2 separate regions of the Homo sapiens genome follow, and region 2 is linked to region 1. Evidence: promoter capture Hi-C in 16 types of primary human blood cells and fetal thymus (Javierre and others, 2016). All regions are on one chromosome and are shown on one strand. Each heading gives the region's core, a stretch centred on a gene start or on the middle of the fragment in contact. The rest is flanking DNA. Distances are from core to core; before and after follow the strand shown. Region 1 holds the start of ADAMTS7 (ADAM metallopeptidase with thrombospondin type 1 motif 7). Region 2 overlaps ANKRD34C-AS1 (ANKRD34C antisense RNA 1).

The links. The method cuts DNA at HindIII sites, captures the fragments that hold promoters and counts their contacts. A CHiCAGO score of 5 or more calls a contact.
Region 2: a contact is called between a fragment that was not itself captured here and the fragment with the promoter of ADAMTS7 in region 1, in 1 of 17 cell types (total B cells). The highest score is 5.3, in total B cells.

What each region holds. Positions count from the first base shown.
Region 1 is chr15:78,807,102-78,812,713 of GRCh38, forward strand. It overlaps ADAMTS7 (ADAM metallopeptidase with thrombospondin type 1 motif 7), which reads right to left and starts at 4,363. Exons shown (of 24, transcript NM_014272.5): 1 at 4,020-4,363. The coding sequence starts at 4,119. RefSeq lists a silencer at 4,391-4,810. The HindIII fragment of the contact is 7,795 bases long and covers 207-5,612 here.
Region 2 is chr15:79,190,802-79,196,413 of GRCh38, forward strand. It overlaps ANKRD34C-AS1 (ANKRD34C antisense RNA 1), which reads right to left. Exons shown (of 2, transcript NR_038997.1): 2 at 906-1,301. Among named protein-coding and RNA genes, the nearest start is that of MIR184, 16 kb to the right of the region's middle. The HindIII fragment of the contact is 1,142 bases long and covers 1,873-3,014 here.

The DNA of each region.
Region 1 (5,612 bases), core at 3,113-5,612:
TCCCAGGGCAAGGACAATCCCAGCCAAGGCAGCTAAAGATGAGCTGAAGGTCAGGGGGGCACTGATGCCAACCAGCTCTAAAATTCTCAACTGGGGGAGCTACATGACACTCTTTTAGGCAAGTTTTGTCCTCAAATGCATGTGGTTGGGGAATGGAAGCAGGTATGTAACTGAGGAATCAACCACTGGGGAGAAAAGGCCCCAAAAGCTTAAAAAAAATAAAGTATCTCTGGGGAAGAACCCATGCCCCAGCGGATGTACAGTCCTGTTGAGAATACCTGCTGTAGATCCTGGGCAAATATTGCAAGACAGAAATTCCAGATGACTTACAAAGAAGCATCCTATTAAGTTCAAAAATGTGGACAGGGCTAAGTAGAGCTATGCCGCAGGTGAAAAGCATTCGGATTAGTGAGCTCTAGAGCCAGAGAGGCTGTGTTTGAATCCCAGCTCTGCTACCCATATCTGTGAGACCATGGGTAAATTACTCAACCACTCAGAATCTCAGTTTCTCCATCTGTAAAATGGGGATGATAATAATTACAGCTGCTCTCTTTGGTTGTGTAAGAATTAAATGAGTTAGTATGTAAGTGCTTATAACAACAGCTGGCACATAGCAAATGTGAGCTAAGTTATGACTGAAAATTAGCAAGAGAACTTCTAAAGTATATTTAGCTTTTTCTTTTAAAAACTTGTTGTTTTATCTGTTTGCCTAATGGCTTAAAAACAAACAAAACAAAACAAAACAAAAAACATGTTTTTATTTATTTATTTCTTTTTTTTTTTTCTGAGATCTCCCAGGCTGGAGTGCAGTGATGCGATCGTGGTTTACTGCAGCCTTGACCTCCTGGGCTCATGCAATCCTCCCACCTCAGCCTCCCAAATAGCTGGGACTACAGGCGTGGACTACCAGGCCTGGATAATTTTTAAATTTTTTTGTAGAGATGGGGTCTCATTATGCTGCCCAGGCTGGTCTTGAATTTCTGGGCTCAAACGATCTGCCTACCTTGGCCTCCCAAAGTGCTGGAATTACAGGTGTGAATCACTGTGTCTGGTCTAAAACATGTTTTTCAATCAACAATAAAAGAATAGACTTACAGGATGTTGCCACTTTTATTGCAATAATTTTTTTCTTGTTTTGTTCAGATTTTTTCTTTTGAGACAGTCTCCCTGTGTCACCCAGGCTAGAATGCAGTGGTGCGATCTCGGCTCACCGCAACCTCTGCCTCCTGGGTTCAAGCAATTCTCATGCCTCAGCCTTCCGAGGAGCTGGGATTACAGGCATGCACCACCATGTCCAGCTAATTTTTGTATTTTAATAGAGATGGAGTTTCACCATGTTGGCCAGGCTGGTTTCGAACTCCTGGCCTCAAGTGATCCGCCAGCCTCAGCTTCCCAAAGTGCTGGGATTACAAGCATGAGCCACTGCAGCCCGCCAGCATTACCTTTTTTTATAGTGAACTTGTATTGTTTTGCCATTAAAATATTTTTAAAAAGTGCAGGGGTAAGTTTAAAAATAAGTAACTTTCACTGTAGCCTAGTTGACCTCACTCAGTAGAGATGTTGGTGGCTGAAACTAGCACCACCCAGTGCCAGCAAGGAGTAATTGCAGGTTCCAGTCTCGACCGGTTATGTGCTTGCAACAAAGCTGAGCCTGCAGAGTTCAAGTGACAGTGGGATGGCAACAGGCACCATTCAAGAGGACTGCCAGAGATTCATGGCCAAATCTATTCTGCCAAGTCAGGAGGTCTGTTCTGATTGGACCAAGCTCCTGCCACATTGGGTGTTAAATACTTTTAATATCTCCCCTGGGTGACAGAACTGTCACTTTGGAGCTTCTACCAAAGAAATGCCAAGATGGTGTTTACCCTCACCTCCCTATCAAGAACCTGAGTTACAATCCAGCCCTTCAAATGACCCACAGCTCATGCCAAGGAGGAAAAATAACTGGCAGGGTGGGGGGTAGTATGTGAATGCCCTCCTCTGTGAGTTCTAGTATGCACAGAAACACATGCACACAGAGTTCACATGTGCCATACGGCATGAGGAGGACACATGACTGGGCTCCAGCCTCAGAAACCCTAGCAGGTCCCTGGGTCAGTCACAAGTGGGGAAAAGGGATATATTTTCCTAAAAGTGAGCCCAGGATGAGCCCTTTGGTCTTAAAGAAGGTAACATTCAGTGGTAGGAGGAGCCCCAGGCTTAGGTCCTGGGCTTCAAAGAAAATGACAAACAGGCCAGCAGCCTCAGAGTCACCAATCCTGAGGGAGTGCAGAACAGGAAGGACCCCATGCTCTATATCTATGGGAACACTAGAGACAGACTTCACCCTTGGAGTGTTTGTGCCCAGATTAGGTTGGAGAGAGTGCCTGGCCTGCCTCCACCCTCAAACAGCAGGTCCAGGTCATCTGGGGAGTCCTGGGTCGGCCTGGCAGATTAATAAAAATAATGACCACTACATTGTAGTCACTGTGTCCTGCCTGAGCAACTGACATATTCAATATCTCATTTAATCCTCATAAGAATCCCACGAGGTTGACCGCACCCAACTCTTCCCACAGCTGCCAGGGGGCCAGGACCCAAGTCCTGAGGGAAGCATTTTCCTGCTCTCCCATTCCCATCGCCCGGTTCATCCTCCTCAGCCCCCAGCTCTGGACAGTGGAAAACACAAGCCTCATTCAGGAAGCTCAGGAGTCCAACCCCACAGGTCGCTCTACTCTGAGCCTGTTTGCTGGTCCATAAAAGGACTTTCCATCACTTGCTTTGCACGGTTGTTGTGGAGATGATGAGAAATAAGAACCCGTGAGGCTGGCACACAGTAGGTGCTCATTAAATGTTCGCTCCCTCTGCGCTCTGCGCATGGCTGCTAGACCAAATCTTTCCAAAACACTGCTTTCATCAGCTGCTCCCCTCAACGGCTTCCCAAACCTCTAAGATCAAGAGTCAATGTCCCCATCCTTCCCGCCCAGACTACTTTCTCGTCACAATCCCTCCAGTGGGGAGGCAGGTCGACCCCATCCCAGCAAGCAACCCTAATCCAGTCCCCCGACTGATGCTCCCCAGGGGAGGGCCCCACTCCCTCCACGCCCTTCTAGCTCATCCAGAATCCATCCATCCTTCCAGTCTCTCCAACCTCATGCCCCTCCTCTCCTACAAAGCCTGCCGGTCGGCTCTATTGCAGGACTCTCCCCACTATCCACCGGCTCCCCTGACTGGGAGCTCCCTGAGCACCGGGCCTGGGGTCTCCTACATCCTCGGTTACTGAATTCCCAGGCCGGCTGCGTCGGACGCGCCAGCAGCGCGGCCGCCCGGCAGGTCGCCGCCAAACAAGAGTCTGGACGCAGGCCAGAGGCTCGTCGGAGGCCGGCCCGGCGGGGCGGGGAGAGTTAACCCATGGCCGGGAAAAGAAGCTCCTGCTCCCCGCTCCACTCCCGGCGTCTTCACACTTGGGGAAGGGAGAGGCAGGAAGTGCAAGGACCGCGCAAGACCCGGCCCCCCGAGCCGCCAGGGGCCGCGCCAGCAGCCCAGATGCGGTGGGCGGGAGCTGGGGGGGCGGCGGGGTCCCGCGAAGACCTGCGACCTGGCGCCCTCGCCGGCTGTGTCCCGGCCAGCCCGCTTTCCAGGCGAGCCTCGCTAAGGAGTGTGAGAAACCAAATCCTCAGTGGGTAAACCGCGCTCCGTCCAGCCCACTCGGACGAGAGCTCTCCCGGGAGCCAGGCGCGTTGCTGCACCCGAGGTGGGGAAACCGGAGCCCGAAGAGCGGAAGGGGCTTATTCCAGGCGACAGGCAGTGTCAGTAACTGAATCAGGGGCCGAGGAAGTTTCCCCAGAAGCGCGGCTTCGCTCCCGGCCCGGCCCGACCCCGACTACTGTCCCCTAATACCCAGGGAGCGGAAGACGCGACCAACTCCAGGCACAGCGGAGCCGGCGCGGGGTCCACAAAGGTGAGGAGGGACAAAACCGAGACTGGGGGAGCGGGAAGGGGTGGCAGGCCCGGCTGGCCGGGGAGGGGCGGACACCCACCTGGTGCGGGTCCGGGGGCGCCGGGAGCCAGAGCGCAGAGGAGCAGGAGGAGGGGGCGCAGCAAAGGCGCGGGGCTGCGGGGACTGGGGCCGCCGGGCATGGCAGGAACCGGGCGGCCGCCGGGTGACCCCGCGCGCACGCTCTCGTCCGTCCCGTCCGGTCGCTGCCTGGTCCCAGGTCCGGCTCAGGACATGCCCGGCCGGCGTGCAGCTCCCGGCGACCCGGCCCCGACTCCGTTCGGCTGCGCTCGGTCCGCGGGCAACAAAGGCTGCAGGGCCCGCCCCCTTGGCCGCTGCAGAGGCAAAGAAAAGACAAGAGAGCTAGAAGGAGAGAAAGAAAGAAAGAAAGAAAGGGAGGGAGAGTGAGGGAGGGCGGCTGCCGGCCCCCGCCCCGCCCCTCGGACTCCTTCCCCCGCCCCTGGCCCCGCCCCGCCCCGGCCGGCCCCGGCCTCATCGGCCCCGCAGGCCGTGCTCGCCTCAAGGGCTGGCCGGCCCGGCGCAGGCAGCGCCCCGCAACGGATGTCCGCCCCCCTCGCCCCCCTGTCCCGAGCGCCCCCTGCCGGCGGAGCCCTGCCAGGCCTTTCCGACCCCGGCCGGTTGAGGACCCCCGGAAAGAATCTGGAATTTCCAGAATTAATGTGTTGTCCCTAAATTGGGCTCCACGAGGTGCCCTTCGCTGTGTTCCCCAGGCCAAGCAGGGCAGCCCCTCAAAAGGGGACGCGGGAGGCCTCCAGAGGGCCACACCGGGGGCCCTGCTTCAAAGCTATCTGCGGAGACAGGCCTGGGCCCTCCCTGGACAGACAGCGGTTGCCCGCGCGAGGTGGGGCCCCGCAGTTCCTCGTCTCCTGACTCCTCTCCTAGTGCGTTTGCTTGAAGCAGAGCGCAGAGTTGAGCCCACAGGCGGGGGACCGCGGCTTCGCCCAGGCCAGCGCCCACAGACTTTCAGCAGGGGCTCCCGGGGAGCCTGGAGGCCGGCCAACCCCAGCCTCACATCCCAGGCCAGCCTCCGCCTCCAACACCGGCCGTCTGTCCTTCGTGGCCCCAGCCCTGGCTCTGGCTTCCGGCTCCCCTTCCCCCTGTGCTCCCAGGAGCTTCCTTTCTCCCTTCTGCCGTCACTAAACATGGCCCTGTACCGAGGACGCCCGTCTTGTCCTCGGGGCGGTTGCGGTCAGCTTCCTCCCCTTGGTTAGTCTTTGTGTGCCCCCTGCCCTCTGAGGCCCGCACACCTCCTCATTGTCCAATCTCCTGGGCCCTTTCATTCAATTCCTGGAAGCTCACTTCTGGCTTCCTCTCCACCCTCAACCTGTCTGTCCTCTAGGGAATTTGTGTAGTACAGGGTCACCTACTTCCTCCATCTCATCTCCAGTGACCTTCCACTCCACCTCAGCCATCAGGTCTCAGGGCCAAAGCCTGGGCTGTGTCATCCCTCAGAACTGCTCCATCTTGGAAATCCGAAGCTCAGGTGCCCCCCTGTCAGACCCGACTCTGCAGTCCTTTCCACCTTCACAGTCCCACTATGTATTGCTCTTCCTCCAGTCCCTTGATACCTTCCTCTTCGCCCAACCTACCAGCCCCTCCTGGCTTCACCTACTTC
Region 2 (5,612 bases), core at 1,194-3,693, 380 kb after region 1:
GAAAAAAAATACAAATTTGAGCATGCTTTGCTTCTAACTGGGGTTGGCAGGCTTTTCCTGTAAAGGGCCAGGTGGTCAATATCTTAGGCTTTGTGGGCCACACAGTCTCTGTCTCAACTGCTCAACTTGGCCTTTGCAGTATGAGCACAGCATAGGTGATACCCAAACAAATGGGTGTGGTTGACTTGGCCTCGGCCCCAGGGTCACAGTTGACCTGCACCTCTCTCTTGGATTTGAAGACAAGCGTCAGGTGGCTGTAACTAATGCTGACTGGCAGGCGGTGGCTGTGTGGACCGCTGTGATGGGAAGAAGCCCAAGGCCTCGGGCAGGTTTGGTGGGAAGGGTGGCTGGGTTTAGTGATGTTTGCCACTGGCCAGGTAGGGAGGACGGCAGCTTCGTGCCCTGTGTTTGTAGCCCTGCCTGGCAGCTCTGAGTGGGAGAGAGTGAGCTGGATTACAATGCACACAGGCAGCAGGTCAGTGGAAAGGGAGTTTTTGGAATGGGGGCGGCACTGTGCAAGGGCGGAAAGGACACTTTTTGTTTGGACACTGTCATTTACTCTCTGTGAATCTTTCAGATATCTATCTATCTATCATCTGTATCTATCTATATCTATCTATATCTTTTTTGAGACCGAGTTTCACTCTTGTCGCTCAGGCTGGAGTGCAGCGGTGTGATCTCAGCTCACTGCAGCCTCTGCGCAGGTTTAAGTGATTCTCCTGCCTCAGCCTCCTGAGTAGCTAGGATTACAGGCACCCTCCACCATGCCTGGCTAATTATTCCACTTCAATTCACATGGCTCCCAGAAGCACCACACTCCTCACTACCCTCTTCTGACCCTGCCAGTACCAGGATACTTCCCCCAGTAAAGCAACATCGTCGTCGAGGAACGCCACAGCACACCCTGCACCAGAGCCCCCCGAGCACCAGGGCTGCACATGCAGCTTTGACACTGATTTTGATGAGCAGCTCTCTGTCCCTGGGCCACCCCATAGCTCCTGAGCCCTCCTAACCCTGGTCCTTTTCAGTGAGATGCCACCTTTATCACATCACTGGGAGAACACAAGGAGGCACATTTCTAACAGTGCCCCAAGCAGCCATGACTTTGAGCTCTAGTCATGCCAGATTTTCAGGCTTCAGCCCTTCTTTAGACGTCGGCTCCTCCCAGGATGTGCACAAGGACGGTGTCCTGGTCACTTTGGGCCTCTGCATTTGCTGTTTCCTGCTGGCCTCTGCTCCTCTCCCTGGGCCTCTGTGTCCACTGGTGTCCCTCTGGCCACAGCTGCTGCCACTGTGCAGGCCTGGGGTGGGGACAAGAGAGGAGACATCCTTTATGATTCCATCGCAAGCACAGGGCCCCTTAATTTCCAAAGTGGCGCAGAAACCAGCTTGTAAATTTTGATGAGACTATACAAAACTTTCAGGATCAAGTTTCACAACAGAGAGTTGTGATTTGATGTGATGGTCTCCTTGCCTAGCACTGGGCCTCTCTCAGGCCGTGGGCCTCACTTCGCAGTGTGAGAGCCTCATAAGCCGTCTGCAGTCCCTAGAATCCAGACTCCATGCCTGACACCCTGGTCCCAGGCTGATGGTGACAGCAGAAACGGTCACTGTCTTCAACAGAAATCCCGCCCACAGTGTCGGCTCCTCTCCTGACCCCAGTAGGGACGTGGCATCAGAATACAGGAATGTGAGATCAGCCTGCCTCCAAAAGCCAAGAGGGTCTTAGTTTTGAATGCTTGGTGTGCAGGACATTGACTGCACATTCCAGGTTGAATTTCCCACCTGCAGGCTCTGCTTGCCTATTTATAGAAGTGCCTCTAACACAGGGCAAAGATGGCGTTTCCCCAGCCTCAGATTGCCTGTTATCTAAGCTTCGTAAAGGCACACACACAGCTTCTCAAGCACCAGCAACTGTATGCAAGCCCAGGACAGTGCCAATCCAGTGGAAAACACAGGAATGCTTCTTGGTGCCTGGGAAGAACCAAGTCTGCAGAGCAGATGCTCACTCAAACACGAACCACATGTAACATTACCCGACACGACACAGAGCTTCTTAAGAAAGGCAGCTGCGGTTTTTCAACTGCGGCTGCACAGTACAATTAATCACCTGGGGAACACTTGAAATGACTGATGTCCGAGCCACACTCAGAGCGACAGAGTCAGAAGCTCTTAAAGGGTTGGCCCAGGAACTGGCATTTTCAAAAAGCTCCCAGATGATTCTGTTGTGCAGCATGTGCTGGAACCTGTGCTCTGAAATGCCAACATCCAGATGACTGGTGGTGTTAGTCAGAATAAGCTGGGTTCTAGAATAAGCTGGGTTCTCCTACAGTCACTCATAAATCCCAGTATTTTAGTGGCCTATCACAACAAGGGTTCATTTTTCCTTCACACTGCCTGTCCATTAAGGGTCAGCAGGAGACTCCACTCCACACAGGGAGCGAGTCACGGAGGCTTTGTTACTGTGTGACGGACGGCATTCTCTTAAATACTTGCTTCCTTGGTTGCCATGGCAGGGGAAGAGACATCTGGAAGGTCACACCAGGCTCTTCTAGGTTTTAGGCTGAAAGTAGCACCTGTCACTCTCTGCCATAGCCCCGGCCAGAGCTGGTCACATGGCTCTGGCCGGCAATAAGGCAGCTGGCAAGGAGGTGGTGGTGGGGATGAGCAGGAGGCTGATGGATGTTTGATGGATGCCATTGTTTCTGCCACACTGGTGTTTTACACATCTTGTCCCCCAGTATTGACTTGGTGCTTACTTGACTGAAGGGTCATTTCAGGAAATTATGCCAGAAGGAAAAACCAGCCAGCCTTAACATAGTGGTCAGGTTTAAGTCTCCATCACTTGGAGCTGCCTGCCATTTTGGCATTTTTGTAGCTTCCAAAAATCCCACCAGAGTTTGACAGAAAATGTAGATATTTTGCTTTGTTACTTATGTGCACAGTCAGCCATTTCAGGACTTTCCATTGATTTGTCGTTTCTCACATTGACAGTGCACTGTTTTAAGTATTGAAGCTTTGCAGGGCATATTGATACATTATAAGCTCAGTTACCTCTCAGTGCTTTTGTATTTCGGATATTATCTTGTTTTTTTTCTTTACTCATTTTTCATTGTACAAACTTTAAAAATAAGTGTTATAAAATTTGGTTATGATTTCTATTGGGATTAGACATCTTTATAATATAATCTTCTGCCTCAAGGAAATGCCCTATATTTCTAATTATTAAAATCTTCTGGCTGGGCACAGTGGCTCATGCCTGTAATCCCAGCACTTTGGGAGGTTGAGGCAGGTGGATCATTTGAGGCCAGGAGTTTGAGGCTGCAGTGAGCTATGATGGTGCCACTGCACTCTAGCCTGGGTTACAGAGCGAGACCCTGTCTCTAAATAAATAAATAAAGTCTTCCCCTGACTTTCTCAATGAATGTTAGCATTTTTTTCTTATAGGACTTACATATTTCTTACTAAGTTTATTTTCATATATACACATTCACATACCTATATATACATATATTCATATGAAATGTGTATAGCATATTTTCCCATCATATTTTCTAATTATAGATGATATTTAGGAATGTTATTGATATTTATATATTCTTTATAGAACAATCAACTTTATTAAACTTGAATGGATTTTTTTTCCAGGTAGAAAATCATATTGCCTGAAAATGAGTATAGTTTTGTCATCTTCTCTCTTATAATTTTGCATCCGATTTGTTACCAGGCCTTATGGCATTGACCAAGCCCTTCAGAACAATGTTTCACAACAATAGGACCGGCTGTGTTCTTGTCTTAGTCCTTATTTTAATGGTAACAACTGCAGTGTTTCCTGTTGATTGCTATTTTTGGATAGATATTTTAGTATCTCACGAAAGCATTCTTCTAATCTTAGTCCCCACAGTATTTTTTTCATCATTAGTAGTAAATATTAGATTTTATGAAATACTTTTTGCCATCTATTGATATGATGTGTGCTTTTTTTTTGCCTTTTTCTTTTATATCCTTTTTATGGTCCGGTTGATGTAATAGTAAAAATTAAAAAAAAATCATTGTATTTAATCCTTGAGGAATAAAGACAACTCTTGGCTTCACATTCAAGACTTTTTAAAGATGGACTCCAAACTGACTTGTCCAGTCTCCCATCCCATCATCTCTCCAAACTCACATCAGCTGCACCTGATGACAGGCATGACCCAAAACCTGTAAAGTGTTTTGCAGCCCCTCATGCTGTTCACTTTGTCTGAATTGCAGTATCATTATCTTCCAAATGGGGACCCCCTGAACAATCTTCTAGGGTGATGCCCCTGTGAAATCACCACTCTCAAATGTGTCCTGAGCTGGACAATGAATGACAATATATGGTCACCCTCTCCTAGGATAAATTGTCCCTGCTCTCAACCCCCTAAAGGGTTGGATGTCTCCCTTCTGCACAGCATACCTTCCTGGACATATTTTCACCATAGCTTTCTGCTCCCCAGCAGCAGTGAGCTGGCACACAGTAGGCACTCTAAGCCCTAGCCAGGGGTGTTAGTGGAATGAAAGAATGTTACGACCTCATTTTTAAAATAAGAGGAGCTGTCCTTGCAGGGCACCTCCCTCCTCAGCATGTGCCCACAGAAGCTTTCCTGATGGGTAGCCCTAGGCCACGCTGCTAGCTGCTCAGCCAGCACCCACAGAGAAGTGAAGACAGGAAGGGACTCCTGCAGGGAAATTGCTGGGGCCGTTGGGAAATGTATGCTGTGGGCTTGGAGCCTGCGAAATGGGGAGAGAGGAGAGGAGAGGGTCTGGAAGGTGGAAGGAAGGGATGTAGGACAGAAAGAAGAAAAAAGAGGAATGGAGCAAGAGAAAAGAGAAGAAAATGGCAGATGAGGGAAAGAGGGAGAGAAGAAGACAGAAATGGAGGAGGAGGAAAGGAGGCAGCAAGGCTATGCCCTGCTCGTCGCTCTCACACAGCTATTTTGGGGGGTGCTAATTTCCTGGCTATTTGGGGAAACTTTGCAGGCATATTCACTTATCTTGAATGTTTTGGGCTTCACCAGCCTATGACTGCAAAATAAGGTCACATTCCTTTTAACTAGTCAAACGAAAATAGGATAAAAGCTCTACTGCCTGTGATGTTAGACTCCCCTGAAGAGGTCCGATGGCCCTATTTCTGGGGGTTCCTTGGGGTGCAGTTCCCTGTTTGCTCAGAGGGTGGTGCCGGTCAAGGCTTTGCACCCTGGTCCCTCTTCCTGTGCTCGGGGCTGCCTCTGGGGTTGTGACCCTGGGAGGTCCTCTTCTTGGAAGCCTCCACCATTCCAGTGATTCCCCTGCACCCGCCACCCTGAACTCAGGGGAGAGGGACTGTGTTCCCTTTTCACTCCTCAGGCTCTCCTCTCAACTTCCCAAACTGCACAGCTGGCTCCAGGCCCTAATTACTGATGAGGCTTTCCTGAGAGTTGAGTGAAAATGAATAAAAATTAGGAGATATACCTAATGTTAAATGACGAGTTAGTGGGTGCAGCACACCAACATGGCACATGTATACACATGTAACAAACCTGCACATTGTGCACATATACCCTAAAACTTAAAGTGTAATAATAATAAAATTTTAAAAAAATAAAATT